2 separate regions of the Homo sapiens genome follow, and region 2 is linked to region 1. The links are contacts of gene promoters, found by promoter capture Hi-C in blood cells and fetal thymus (Javierre and others, 2016). All regions are on one chromosome and are shown on one strand. The core of a region is centred on a gene start or on the middle of the fragment in contact, and the rest is flanking DNA. Distances in the headings are between cores, read along the strand shown. Region 1 holds the start of E2F2 (E2F transcription factor 2). Region 2 overlaps PNRC2 (proline rich nuclear receptor coactivator 2).

Region 1 (6,702 bases), core at 3,134-5,633:
TGCACACACACACACACACACACACACACACAGCCTTCTCTCTTTTCTCACTCTCCTTCACCCTTATTCTGCACTCCCAGGGTCCCAATGCGGCAAGTGTCCCCCTAAGGATACCTCCCTGACACCTTTGGACAGTGCCCAGAGGAAAGTCAGCCTATGGCTTGGGCTGAACCTGCAGAACACAGGTGGCAGAGGACAAGCCCAGGAGGATCAGCATCAAGGTGAGGCTGAGCACAGGTCTTGGAGTCAGACTGGCCTGGCTTTGCATCTAGGCCTTCCCCTTCTTAGCTGGGAAATCAGTTGACGTCAAGTCACCTATAAAATGGGCATCATTGTCTCCACCTATGCTGAGGATTCAGTGAGATAGTGCAGCAAAGCGCTTTGCCCATAGGGAGTGCCCCCACCAGGGAGCTGCTAGCACTGATGTATGGGGAGCACCAGTGGGAAAAGGGGAAAGTTCAAGGGTGAGCTGAAAAGAGACTGCGATGAGGGGAGGAGAGCAAAGGCTATGGCCACAGCCAGAGGCCAGCTTAGCCCTATCCTGGACGCTCTTAGGCAGCCCCTTTGGCTGGATCTTCAAGGCCTGGTCAGGACGCAAGCCCACCCTGCCAACCCCTATGGAGAAGAGTACAGCTCCTTCCTCAGGCAGCTGCAGAAGTGCAGAGGGTCAGAGATCACCAGGCACAACCCCCTTACGGGCACCACGGTGAGGAAACTGGGACTTGGGGAAGAGGAATTGACTTGCCCAAGGTCACGCAGAGTGGAGCCTGGTCTCTCCTAAGCCCTAAGTCAGATGGTGGGGGTAGGAGCAAATGTAAGGGGTCGAACCTTGCTTTCAGATCCCAGCTCTGCCACTTCGTAGCTGAACAGCCTGGGATTCACTGTCTTGCCTCTCTGAGCCTACACCTCCTCACCTGACCTGCCTTGTAGAGTTGTGTGTTAAAATGTTTATTTTCTTTCATGCCTCACAAGAGGAAATCTGGAAAATGTAGACAAATTGAAAGAAAAGGAGGACCGGGCGTGGTGGCTCACGCTTGTAATCCCAGCACTTTGGGAGGCCAAGGCGGGTGGATCACCTGAGGTCAGGAGTTCGAAGCTAGCCTGGCCAACATGGTGAAACCCCATCTCTACTAAAAATACAAAAAGTAATCCCAGCTACTTGGGAGGCTGAGACAGGAGAATCATTTGAACCTGGGAGGTGGAGTTTGCAGTGAGCAGAGATGGCGCTATTGCAAGCCAGCCTGGGCAGAGCTTCCTGCAGGCGTGAAAGAGAATGATGCCATGCGCCTGGCCAGAGGAGGCATGCGATAAAGGGGCATTCCCTGAGCCTTCCTCAGAGGACTTGGAAAGAGCTCTGGACAGGGAGCCAGGAGATCTGGGTTGTGGCCTTCATTCTGCCATTGAACTTGGTTGCCATCCTTGGACAGTGCCTGAGGTCCCTTTAAACAGAAGCTCCACAACAAATCCTGCTCACCCTGCACTTTGCAGCCCGGCCACAAAGCAAGCGGCCACACCCAGGGTTGGGTTTGGAGCTGTTCCAGGTCACGCCCTTGTAAAATGAGTAAGCAGAGGGCAGGCCTGCCCACGGGGCTGGGCCCCGGGCATCTGGGGATTGACAGGAGCGGGAGCTCTGGGCCTGGCAGGGCTTTAGGGTGGTCTGCTGCAAGGAGACTCCCCTGCTTCTTCACTTGTGACCCAGGCAAGTGACTTCCTTTCTTTGCTCAGTTTCCTTATCTGCAAGGTGCCTCATTCTGGACATCCTGACCAAGATAATGAACGTGAAGAGTGCCAAGCAGTGTCTGGCACACGAGAGGCACTCAGTAAAAGAGAGACCTTCTTGCTAAGATCACTGAGCCCTTCTGGGAGGGAGGTACAGACAGATGTACTTGGGCTCCTCTGGGAGGGTTCAAAGCAGTGTAAAACCACAGCTGTTACTGAAACTTCCAGTCTGAAAGCAGCTGGCCAGAGGAGAGTGGGCCTGCCGCAAAGCTCCCTTCCCTGGGGGGAGCTCAGCTCCTAAGTTAGGCAGTATTAAAAAAAGTCAAGGCTACATAGAGAAGAGCCTGCTGCCTGACCAGGTGCATTAGAGTAGCTAGCTCATGCCTGTAATCCCAGCACTTTGGGAGGCTGAGGCAAGAGGATTGCTTGAGCCCAGGAGTTTGAGACCAGCCTGGGGAACATAGGGAGACCCCTGTCTCTACAAAAAATAAAAAATAAAAGACAGAAGAGCTGACTGCCTTGTGAGTCCCATCACTCTACCCCATCCCCATCTCTGACCTTAGGTCACATCCCCTCTCTGAGCCTCAGTTTCCCCCTGTAACATGGAGCTATTAATGCCATCTATTTCACGAACTACAAAGATGTTTTAGGCTATAAAACACTGAACACAAGATACCCAATCCCAGTTATCCTCGGTTGCTTAACCTGTAAAATGGGGATAATACCATTCCTGCCCACTGCCCTCCTAGTTAGAAATCATGTGCAGGAAGGGTCTCCAGGAAGGTTAACGTTTTGAACATGGGCAAAGCCTGAGTCCACTGGCAGGGAGTGGTGGCTCTGCCTGCATCCAGAGCTGGCTGGGCATCCGTGCTTGCTGACTAGCACAGGTCTGACCAGATGCCTCTGGGGCAGTGGGGGGTGGTCTTATCCCTGTACCCGAACTTATTCACCAAACTCACAACTAAGCAAACCTACAACACCCCCTTCCTCTCCCTGGAGCCTGCTTCCAAAACCCAGGACCTGGAGCTGAATGTGGCTGAGAAGAGCTAGCCCCACAGCCACCCTGTGCACACACGCATTGTGAAGGAGAGAACACTGAAGCCCAGACTGGGTCCAAGACTTGTCCAAGGACACACAGAGAATTAGTGGCAGAGTCACACCAGAAACCAGGCTCCTCAACCACCACCACCTCCACTCCCCCAGGCTTTTCCCACTCCACCCCCCACCCTAAAGTTGTTTTGATTCACACGGGCTCCAGGAATTCCACTCCCACAAAACACACCCTGAGCCCAGGTCAGCAGGCAGCCTGGTGCCACTACACTTTGGGCCCTCTCTGGCAACGAGCCTGGGAGCTTGAGGAGAGAGCAGCCAATCTGAACAGAACCCAAGGGGGCTGCCCACATTTGTATCTGCTACATGGCTGTCTGGGAGGGAAGACTGGGCCTGGGGGAGGACCTAGGGCAGATACTTGGGGCTATCTCAGGAGCTGGCTGGACAATTTGGAGTCTGTCCATGGCAGATTGGATGTGAGAGACCCACTAGACCTATCCCTCTGTCTTACCAAAGTCCCACAGTGTCCCCAGGCCATACTCTTTGCCTGGACAATAGCAGGCACCCAGTACTGGTTTCTGGCCAAACAATGAAGTAATGAATGAATGGCGGCAACGCTGGCTGCATGGACTTCCCCAAGGTCACACAGTGCACTGGGAGTAGTGAGTTGGGTCTCCCTCCAGACTCGCAATCCAGTGCTCATTCCACTCCACTAGAATGGATGAGATTATTTCATCCAAAGTCTGAAAATGAAGGGGTCTTCTACTCAGATATTGGGGGCACTGGGTCCTGGAAACTGAAAGCTCATCTTCCCTCTTCCCAAAACTCTACCTGCTCCACTCAAACTGGATCTCAGGCACCCCTCCCTCCTTTCCCACACCTGGAAAAGCATAGGGGGAAGCGGTGGGGGCCCCCAGCATTACCGGCAGCCGGCCTGCCGGCAGGCATCGCACAACTTGGCCCTCGGGTCCGTGGGGAGTGGCGTCGAGGCAGGTGCCTGGCGCCGCTGCGGGAGGCGCCGTCTGCGGGTACAGCGGTGTGTAGTAGGTAGCAGTAGCTGGGCAGAGCTGGGGGCTGCTGAGGCCGGATGGCCACAGCTCTGTGGGGCTCATCGCGGGCACCACCTTCGGGGTCTGCCCAGCGGCCGAAGCCAAGGCCCGGGGCCCTTGCAGCATAGCGAGTAAGGCGCCCCCTACCCAAAAGGGCTTGGCGCGCCCGCGGACACCTGCGGGTTCCGGTGCTGCCGCCTTTCACACGGCCCGCGGCATGGCGCGGAGGCCGGGGGAAGCCGCCAATGGACGCCTGCGGGGCAAGGCCGGACCCTCCCCTCCTGGCCCGCGGCCGAGCAGAGAGCAGCGCTTAGAGATCGCCGCTTGGAGATCGCCCGGCGGCTGCGGTGGTGGCACTGCCAGGGGCTGTCTCGTCCCGAGGGCACCGCGACCCGGGACGCCCCGCGCTCCCCAAGGCCTCGGCACCTGGGGTCCGGCCGGCTCTGGGGAGGGGTCCCCGGCGTGCCCTCAAGCTCGGCGGAGACGCGATGCGCTGGGATGGGGAGGGGGGTCTCGACTGCACCGACTTCCTTGCGGCTCGCTCTCTAGTCCTTGAGTCTTTCTCTGCCTCTTTTTTTTCTTCTTTTTTTTTTTTTTTTAGCGCCAAACGTCGTGCCGCGAAATTCGGATCTCCCGCGGAAAATGCCGCGCTCCGGTTGGCTGCTGCGACAGTACAGGCTCCACCCCCCCCCCCCCCCCCGGAAAGAACGCGTCCTCGAGGCGGCGATTGCAACACTAGCTTCGCTGCTTAAAGGGGCAGCCACACCTGCTGTTGGTGCCGCCAGCCGCCGGCCGCGCTAGTTAGCAGCCGGCGAGACGGAGACAGAGGGTGGTTCCGGGATTCACAGTGCAGAGGCGGCCAGAGCAGTGCACAGCGCCCCGAGAAATGGGCCCGGATTCCCTGGGATTGAAGGGAAACATTTTGGCGCGGGGTCCCAGCCTGAGCCCAGACCCAGCAGTGTATTCCCCAGGCCACAGGCCCTTTTGTTAGTTTGCATTGTTGCTTAGCTAGCACATGTGCATTCATATCCCCTTTCCTGCTAAAATGAAGGCCAGGAACCTGTTCCCTTTAATGGCAGAGGGGTGAGGGACGGAGGCAAACTAGTCTACTTCTTTGTAGGGAAAACTAACATCTATTCAGCGCCTACAGGATGCCAGGCACCATGCTAGATCCTTACAAGCGTTGTTTTAGTTAATTTATTCCAACAATCCTGGGAAGAGGAATGATGATCCCCATGATAAAGACTGACAGTCTGAAAGGCTGGGTAACTTGCCCAAGGTCATACAGAGAGATTCCCTGATTTGAGAGCTGGCAACAGAATCTGGGACAGGTCCCAGCTCTGGAGCCCTTGTTTTTCCAGTTAAGGGGTTCTTCTACTCTCCCAAGCTGCCTGGGGGCACAGCAGGGTCAGAGTCCCACTGCAGAGCTTTGTCTTGTTCACAGTTGTATTATTAGGACCCAATACTCAGTAAATGTTTGAACATCTCTAGGTTTCTTTTAAACAATCCTTTTGTCACAAGAGCCTCTCTGCCTCATTCAAAAACCTTCATTGCTGATAATACATTCCTCATCACTCCGGTTTAGAGAGGCTCAGAGAAGCAAACTTGGGTAGTGAGTGGTAAAAAGTTGCTAGAAGCTGCTGCTAGATTTCAGGTCTGATTTCTTGCCTGGTGCTGTGTGATTTTTATGCAAGTCTGAGCCTTGGCATTCAAAGCCCTCCAGAGACAGTCCACAGCTTAATTCCTCATTAGATGGTTGAGGCCAAGGTGGCAATAACCCATGATGATTAAGAGCCCAGGCTTTGTAGCCAACAGCCCCGAATTCAAACCCAGGCCCAGACACTTTATTATTCATTGTGTGACCAAGGCAAATTTTGTAAATTCTCTGATCCTTGATCCTTGATTTTCTCCTCCTAATAGCACTTACCTCATATGATCATGAGGAAATCTCATGAGATAATGCATATAAAGCTTTCATCACAGAACCTGGATCATAAGGAGCCTCAAGAATTGGCAGCTGTTGTTATATCTCTGACTTTTTTTTTTTAGACAGAGTCTCACTCTGTCACCAGGTTGGAGTGCAGCGGTGCAATTCTCCTGCCTCAGGTTCAAGTGAGTCTCCTGCCTCAGCCTCCCGAGTAGCTGGGATTACAGGCGCCAGCCACCATGCCTGGCTAATTTTTGTATTTTCAGTAGAGGCAGGGTTTCACCATGTTGGCCACGCTGGTCTCGGACTCCTGACCTCAGGCAATCCGCCCTACTTGGCCTCCCAAAGTGCTGGGATTACAGGTGTGAGTCACCGCTCCCGGTCACATCTCTGACCTTATCTCCAGTGCATAAGACCCTTTTACTCTAGTCTACGTATCTCATTGGTCCTTTTTGGTCCTTTGAGGGCCAGCTTAAATCTCACCTCCTCCAAGAAGCCTCCCCTGCCTGCTTCCTCTCAGCCAGAATGGCTCTTACCCTCTTGGGACCCTTAGTGTGTTCTACCTCAACAAAACAAGGCTTCGTTTTCATACCTTGTTTATCAGTTAGGTTCTATGCTCCTTCAAGAATCTAGGTCAGATCTCTCTAGAATGCCCCTTAGCATCTAGGGCCTGGCTTGGAGTGCAGAAGGCAGGTAATAAATACTGATTATGATTCACTCATCTGCCTGGCTGCAAAGAATAGGAGAAGTTAATGAGATCTGAAGTCAGAAAGTCAGGAGGCCCAGATTAAGTAAGTCCCGCTCTCTACTTCCTAGTTAAGTGACACTGGACAGCCGCTGCTTCACTTCTCTTAACCACAATTTCCTCAACCATCAAATGTGGATAATGCTATCACTCAGTCAATTTCACATTACTTCAGAGACACTACTTAAATGACAGTGGTGGCGATGATCACT
Region 2 (6,702 bases), core at 2,423-4,922, 430 kb after region 1:
AATGGATGTGACATGTGTGGAAAGATTGGAAAATTCTGGTGGGAGTTTAAAAACACGGTCTCTTTAGAAAATCCGCCTGAAGCCAATTTTTTGATATGACTCAACATTTAACACTTCCTTGATTTTATACGCGAGAGAATCTGAAGGTCTTTCCCAGGAAAAAGATAAAGATAAAACTTATTGCGGGACTTGGAGACACTTACAAAAATTCCCCAGGAGTGACTGGATCTCAAGGGTGAAGAGTTTTTTTAAATGGTCGTGGTTATAAGGTCAAAGAAAGCCATCTTACGAGAAATTTTCTACCTTTTAGTTCAGGAAGTAGCCTTCTTTACAGTCAACGATTTTCGTAGTAAATCTAAATGATCACTTTCTCAACGTGTTTTTGAAATAATGAAGTAATCTTTACTTTTCTAGCTAGGACTTCTCTCAAACTTGTGTGCTGAGGAGACTCAGATGTTGGCCTCAGCTCCTAGGCTGAACTCAGCAGATCGGCCCATGAAAACTTCTGTATTGAGACAAAGGAAGGGATCTGTCAGAAAGCAACACTTGTTATCTTGGGCTTGGCAGCAAGGAAGAGGACAGGTAGTGGAGATCCTGCAATCTGAAAAGCAGACTGAAAGGTAATCATCATAATGGGCAAACATTTTATGATGGAACCATCCTAAACCAATTGTTTTTATTTTAAAATAGATTATGTAGATTTGTGGGTAAGCTCATTTTTCTTAGGGAAGGTATAACAATAAAGGTTGTGCATATATTGAAGTCTGAACGGCTTGCTTTTTTGAGTTTAAAGCAGCTGAATAGCCTGTTATTGAGTCTTGTCCAAAATATCTGGAGTTATAAGTTGGAGCCATAGAAGCTTCTTAAAGATTTTGAACTTTTCTTAATGGAATTTTACTCAATATTTGTTTCCATTCACTTGTAGGTGACAAAGAAGCTGAAGATGGGTGGTGGAGAGAGGTATAACATTCCAGCCCCTCAATCTAGAAATGTTAGTAAGAACCAACAACAGCTTAACAGACAGAAGACCAAGGAACAGAATTCCCAGATGAAGATTGTTCATAAGAAAAAAGAAAGAGGACATGGTTATAACTCATCAGCAGCTGCCTGGCAGGCCATGCAAAATGGGGGGAAGAACAAAAATTTTCCAAATAATCAAAGTTGGAATTCTAGCTTATCAGGTCCCAGGTTACTTTTTAAATCTCAAGCTAATCAGAACTATGCTGGTGCCAAATTTAGTGAGCCGCCATCACCAAGTGTTCTTCCCAAACCACCAAGCCACTGGGTCCCTGTTTCCTTTAATCCTTCAGATAAGGAAATAATGACATTTCAACTTAAAACCTTACTTAAAGTACAGGTATAAAATAAGACAAATGTTTAAATTTAGTTATGTTCACGGATAGTTGTCAATTGGTCTGAAACAAATTCGCTAGGGAATCTATTTGTGTAGAACTAATTAATGTAAAAAAAATAGACCATCTCGTGTTGTGTGCACTGTGATATAATGGTAGTATCAGTGCAACTTAAACTAATGATTGTACTTGATATTAAGTGTTCTCAACTGAGTAACTTTTAAGTGGAAACCAAGTTTAGATTTGGGGAGTGGTAAAGGAATCAGCTTTTTCTATTGTTAGGGGAAGACAGTAATTTATCATTCATGGACCAGTAGATTGTTGAAAGTTGGTGAATCGGATTATAAGCTTCTAGCTAACACAAGGATTCAGAATTAGGTAAACATCTGAAGGTTTAGTATATTAGAAACACCCAAACCAGTAATATGCTAACCTGATGCACTGCTGAAAGAAAATGTGAATTTTTCGTAATAATTGCATTTTAGTGAATTGTACAGTGGGTGGAAAGGGCATTTGGAGCTCATTAGAATGAGACATAGTACACCCCAATGGCCCTGTTTATTAAATGTAGTGGATTAAGTGTCTGTCAACAAATACACCAAAACCATTTTTTATAGAAACAGTATTTAATGGTCACTCAATAGCTTTCAAAATACATTTTTGTATTACAGCACTGCACAAGCTATTCTAATAGTGCTCTGGCCTCATCATTCCTGCAAAGCTTGCTTTGGGGAGTTGGATAATGTGAAAATTTTAAGTACCTAGGGGAGAAAGAGCCATGTAAATATCTGTAATAAACTTGTAGCATATGTAAAGTTTTCTTGGCCTTTATCTTACAAAAATGGAGTATTTTAGTATGAATTTGCTGAATGTAAGACCGTGGACTGTTTTTTATAATATGGCCTAATTTTAAAGGTCCAAAATAACTTGTTTTTAAAGTTTGCCCTTGTGCTAAAGTGCCAGTGTATGTATGTTATACTTGATTTGGTTGTAAACTATATTTCAAAGTAAACCCTAGTGTAATAAGTTTTATAACTAAAAAGGTTTAAGCTGCTAAAACTATTTTTAAGAGATGTGAAATGCAGTATGGGACTATCTTTTTTTCCTCCTCTAAGCCCAAAGATTAACTAGAGTCCCTCCAACCTTATAGATTGTTGGCTTTCACAATCTTATAACCTAGGATACAGGTAGTTTCGAGTATGGTGCCAGTGATGTTTTGTTTTTGTTTGGTCAAGGGGTAGGTGCAACCCAATGGACCACTTATGCAAAAGATGTAAACTCTTGCATAATACATTGATAACATGTTTTGCCAACTTTAAATGCTTAAACATAAGCGAAACCAGTAGCAAGTATGTGGGTCAGCTTAAAAATTTTGATTGTTAATGCCCTATTTTCTAATTTGGCACCTCTTGATGCCTAAGCAGGTAAGCAGATGCCTAAGCTGTATTTCTCCAAATAAATCAAGATGAAGTACTGCCCAAGTTAAATATTGATAGCCTAAAGACAAGTTTATGTAGTACTTAATGTACATGATATGAATGTGAAGCATAAAATTAAATAAAATTTTTCCCCATTGGCTTGGTTTTATTTTAAAAATGGTTTTGATTGCTTAATATTCTTTTTAAAAATGTGTTTTACTTGTCACTGACTTGAAGCTCATAATACACTCACAATATTCCAAACTCTTGGATTTCTCAGACTCCAGAACTATGAACCACTACATTTCTGATCATATATATATACGTATATATAAAAAAGGTCACAACTAAAATGTGATAGGACTGTTGGCTTGAAAAGGGGCAACTAGTTTGCTGACTGATACAGAAGATACTAGGATTTGACAGCTATGCAGTTAAGCAACTACTTAGGATTTCTCTCTCCCAGTAGTGTTAATTAAAAAGCAAAAAAAAGGCCACACATGGAAAACATCGCAAAGCTTTTGAAAGTTAATTCCATGATCTAGGTTCATAGAAAAAAAATTATAAGCAAATTTATCAAGTTGACAAGAACCCTTGTGTTTTAAGTATGTTGACAAATGAAAAGTATATAAGGGGACCCCTCAGAAGAAAAGCATCACAACCACACCTTTCTGATACAGATTCCAAATGATAGGGCATCTTAAAACTAGTTTGAGTAATCCTTAAAATGCTACAACTAGTCCCATGGCAAAGCTGTATTATTTTCATGCAAACTAGTTAACAATTTGGAGTTAAGGCAGAACCAGCATTTGGGTGTTCATTTTGTTTCCAGGGTAATTTCTGTGAACAATGCCAAGGATTGCAGAATTGAACTTCATGTATTGGACAAATCTCAGCCTAGGTGTCTGTTAGTTTTTAAGCTATATATTGAATCTAGTGTATATATTGAATACACTAGATTTTTAGTGACTAATCTAGTAATACACTAGATTTTTGGTTTGACTCAAGCAAAATGAGTAAATGGAAGTGGGAGTGGAAGATTACCTAACTTCATACTTTAGGAAAGGTACTGATAAAAGTTTTGGTTAGCCTATATAGAGAATGGTGATAGGAATTTCCCAAGTCGATGCAATTGCGAGAACCAAAAATAGCTGGTACAGAGAACTTACCATGTAAGGCTGCTGAAGTCAGCCATACTGTGAACCTTAGGTAAATGCTGTAATTTCAATTTGTCTTCTTTTCGATGGCAGTTATACTATGATGGAATCCAGGTCCAAAACCTATCCTTAAGCTTAAAATAAATACTAATAAACTATCCTCTTCCCTAGAACTACAACACAGGAAAAAACCTGAAAGGTTTTGTGTAAGTTTCAGTTTCTAGTATTTTGGTTGCATTCTTGTAGGCAATTTGTAAAGCAAGAGGGACAGAGTGCATCTCTAAAACCTCTTACACAAATTAGGAAAAAGTTGTACCCAGGTGGTTACAAATCTAAGAGCAAAATCTTAAAAAAACCCAAGATTTATTTTTGGCTCCTAGACCAGTTTATTTCACTTTCCAGCATTCAAAGAAATGTGATCTGCAAAAAACTAGATACAAAGGCCTTTTACTTCTTTACAAACTACGGTTAGTTCTCAATGAATTTACATGCCTCACTTTTTATTCCAAGAAAAATCCCCATTATGCAATACAAGGGTGAAACAGCTGTTACAAATACACAGAAACATAATAAAGATAACCAACACTGTTAAGAGGAAGGGGAAGAGGAAAAAACCCAAGAGAAGGAAACTTTTCCACAGTGACTAGCAGAATGTCTTGTAGATAGCAATAACCGAAGACAAACAGGTTGCTCACTTCATCCTATTTATCAAGTCATCCTATCTAAAATGAGAATAGTTCATGCCTAGGATAGGCTAACTATAGGCTTTGCTAGTCCTCCTTCCTAATAGAATGCCCTCAGATTATTCCTGAGCTATCACTCAAGTCACAGATACTTCAGAATATAATCTTAGGTTTTGTAAACAGGAACATGGTCAAAATGCAATACAATGGAAAATCTCTACAAGAGAATGAGATTTGGAAAGCCATGCTTAGAGTCTCTGAGCCACACAACCATAAGATCTTCGAGTACGTTTAATCTCTCATCCAGGAACATTATCCATTTACCTTGTAAGGTTGTGAGAAATGAATAGCATAATATGCAAGAAGCTATCACATGATGGGTATTCTACAAAGGACAATTTTCTCATCTGTAAAATGGGAATAATACCCATTTCCCAGGAGTGTTTTTAGGATTAAATAGAAATATTTGAAAAGCACATGGTTCGGCACAGTAAGTGCTCAATAATATTGACAGCATTCAGTATAGAGAGAAACAACCACAGAAGAGATCCTAAAGCAATTCATTCAACAGATGCAAAAATTAAAGGGCCTTTTCTGATTTACCATAATTAAATATTTTAGAGAACTACCAACTGTTGTTATTGTAGTTATATATGTATTTACCTAATTTTTTTTAAACAAAACCCCAACTCAATATGCACCTTAATTCTCCCCCTTAAATGTCTTAACTTCAAAAGGAAATGGAGAAGGGAGGTAGAGGGCAAAAAAGTCTATAGCCTCTACATATTCTTTTAAAAATACATAGAACCTCTGTCCATAAGAACCCCTATGTTAATGAGTGTATAACGGTATACAACAAAATACTTTTTGTAATTAAATCTAGTCACTTTGACTCTAAGTAAATTCTAGATCCCATTATATCAATGTTACTATCTCCATGAAAATAAAGCTATAAAAACACTTCCCCATTGGATTAAACAACAAACATGGTAACAAAAGATGAAACAAGTGAAAAATTATGGGCTGTAACCTAGGATCTGACACTTGCTGTGTGATCTTGGGCAAGTTCAAACAAAATTTCTAAAATAAAATACAAACAATAATACCTCCATTTCACACCTCCCTTGAAAATATACCTCTGCTATATTTTCAAAATTGCTACAAATTAAAAGCTTAAATTCCACTTCCAGATTTTTAGTTAATTTTATATGGAAAATTTTAAGTATGTGGCAAAAAAGATGACAAAAATCAAATGTGATGAAATCAATGTATAGGTAAAGAAACATCATATCCTAATAAGAAACTAAGGAATCCAAAACATTTTGTGATACTATAAAAGTTATTTATTCGCTATACACAGAACATGTCCCCTATAAAATGTACATGTAAATCACTAAAAAGTATAATTTGGTGAACATTTTCTCAATTACAGAACATACTAAATCAGTTAGGATAACAGCTCTCTGTCTGCCTCAAAATAATCTAATTATAGCACCCAGTCTCCTTTATACCTAATGCAAAGTTAAATACTTATTTTGGGGGTTATATCCTAGCATGTGTTTGGTGAGGCAGAGTAAACAATTTATTATAACTCTAGTATATTACAGTCACTGCACAATAAACCAGTTTATTACAGATTAAATCATTTTTTCATTATTTATAATAATGTGATCAAATACTGGATACTTTTAAATGGCAGATAACCACACAATTACTTATCCTTGATCGTATATTGTGTTCTATAATTACATTGATACGAATGGTGTAAAATATTGTTATGAATAACACACCTCAAACAAAACAATGAGGCCATACTGTAATGATTCACTAGATTGTGCTCAGTAGACATTTACTGAATAAGGGAATTATCTATTTTTCTCAATTATCCAGTACAATGATTTGCCCACAGTAAGGGCTCAATAAATATTTGCTGAATATACTGACTAGGAAAGAGGTGAGAAGAGATGGGCCCTCTTAGCTGGATGTCAAATATAATTGGAATTTACCTGGGAAGGAGTAGTTAAGACAGATGTAAACTGCATGTGGTGTACAAGTAAATAAACACAGATGCCAACAAAGCAAATGATTAAGC

What was found. The method cuts DNA at HindIII sites, captures the fragments that hold promoters and counts their contacts. A CHiCAGO score of 5 or more calls a contact.
Region 2: a fragment that was not itself captured here is called in contact with the fragment with the promoter of E2F2 in region 1 in 1 of 17 cell types (fetal thymus); the score reaches 5.1 in fetal thymus.

Annotation. Positions count from the first base shown.
Region 1 is chr1:23,526,850-23,533,551 of GRCh38, forward strand. It overlaps E2F2 (E2F transcription factor 2), which reads right to left and starts at 4,384. Exons shown (of 7, transcript NM_004091.4): 1 at 3,693-4,384. The coding sequence starts at 3,944. LOC101928163 (a long non-coding RNA gene) reads left to right here. Exons shown (of 3, transcript NR_110799.1): 2 at 81-221; 3 at 556-1,570. RefSeq lists silencers at 1,438-1,634, 3,790-3,938, 4,476-4,615 and an enhancer at 1,653-1,782. The HindIII fragment of the contact is 7,412 bases long and covers 1-5,787 here.
Region 2 is chr1:23,960,515-23,967,216 of GRCh38, forward strand. PNRC2 (proline rich nuclear receptor coactivator 2) reads left to right here. Exons shown (of 3, transcript NM_017761.4): 2 at 415-620; 3 at 926-2,948. The coding sequence starts at 944. The coding sequence ends at 1,363. SRSF10 (serine and arginine rich splicing factor 10) reads right to left here. Exons shown (of 6, transcript NM_054016.4): 6 at 3,833-6,702. Among named protein-coding and RNA genes, the nearest start is that of PNRC2, 4.0 kb to the left of the region's middle. The HindIII fragment of the contact is 773 bases long and covers 3,287-4,059 here.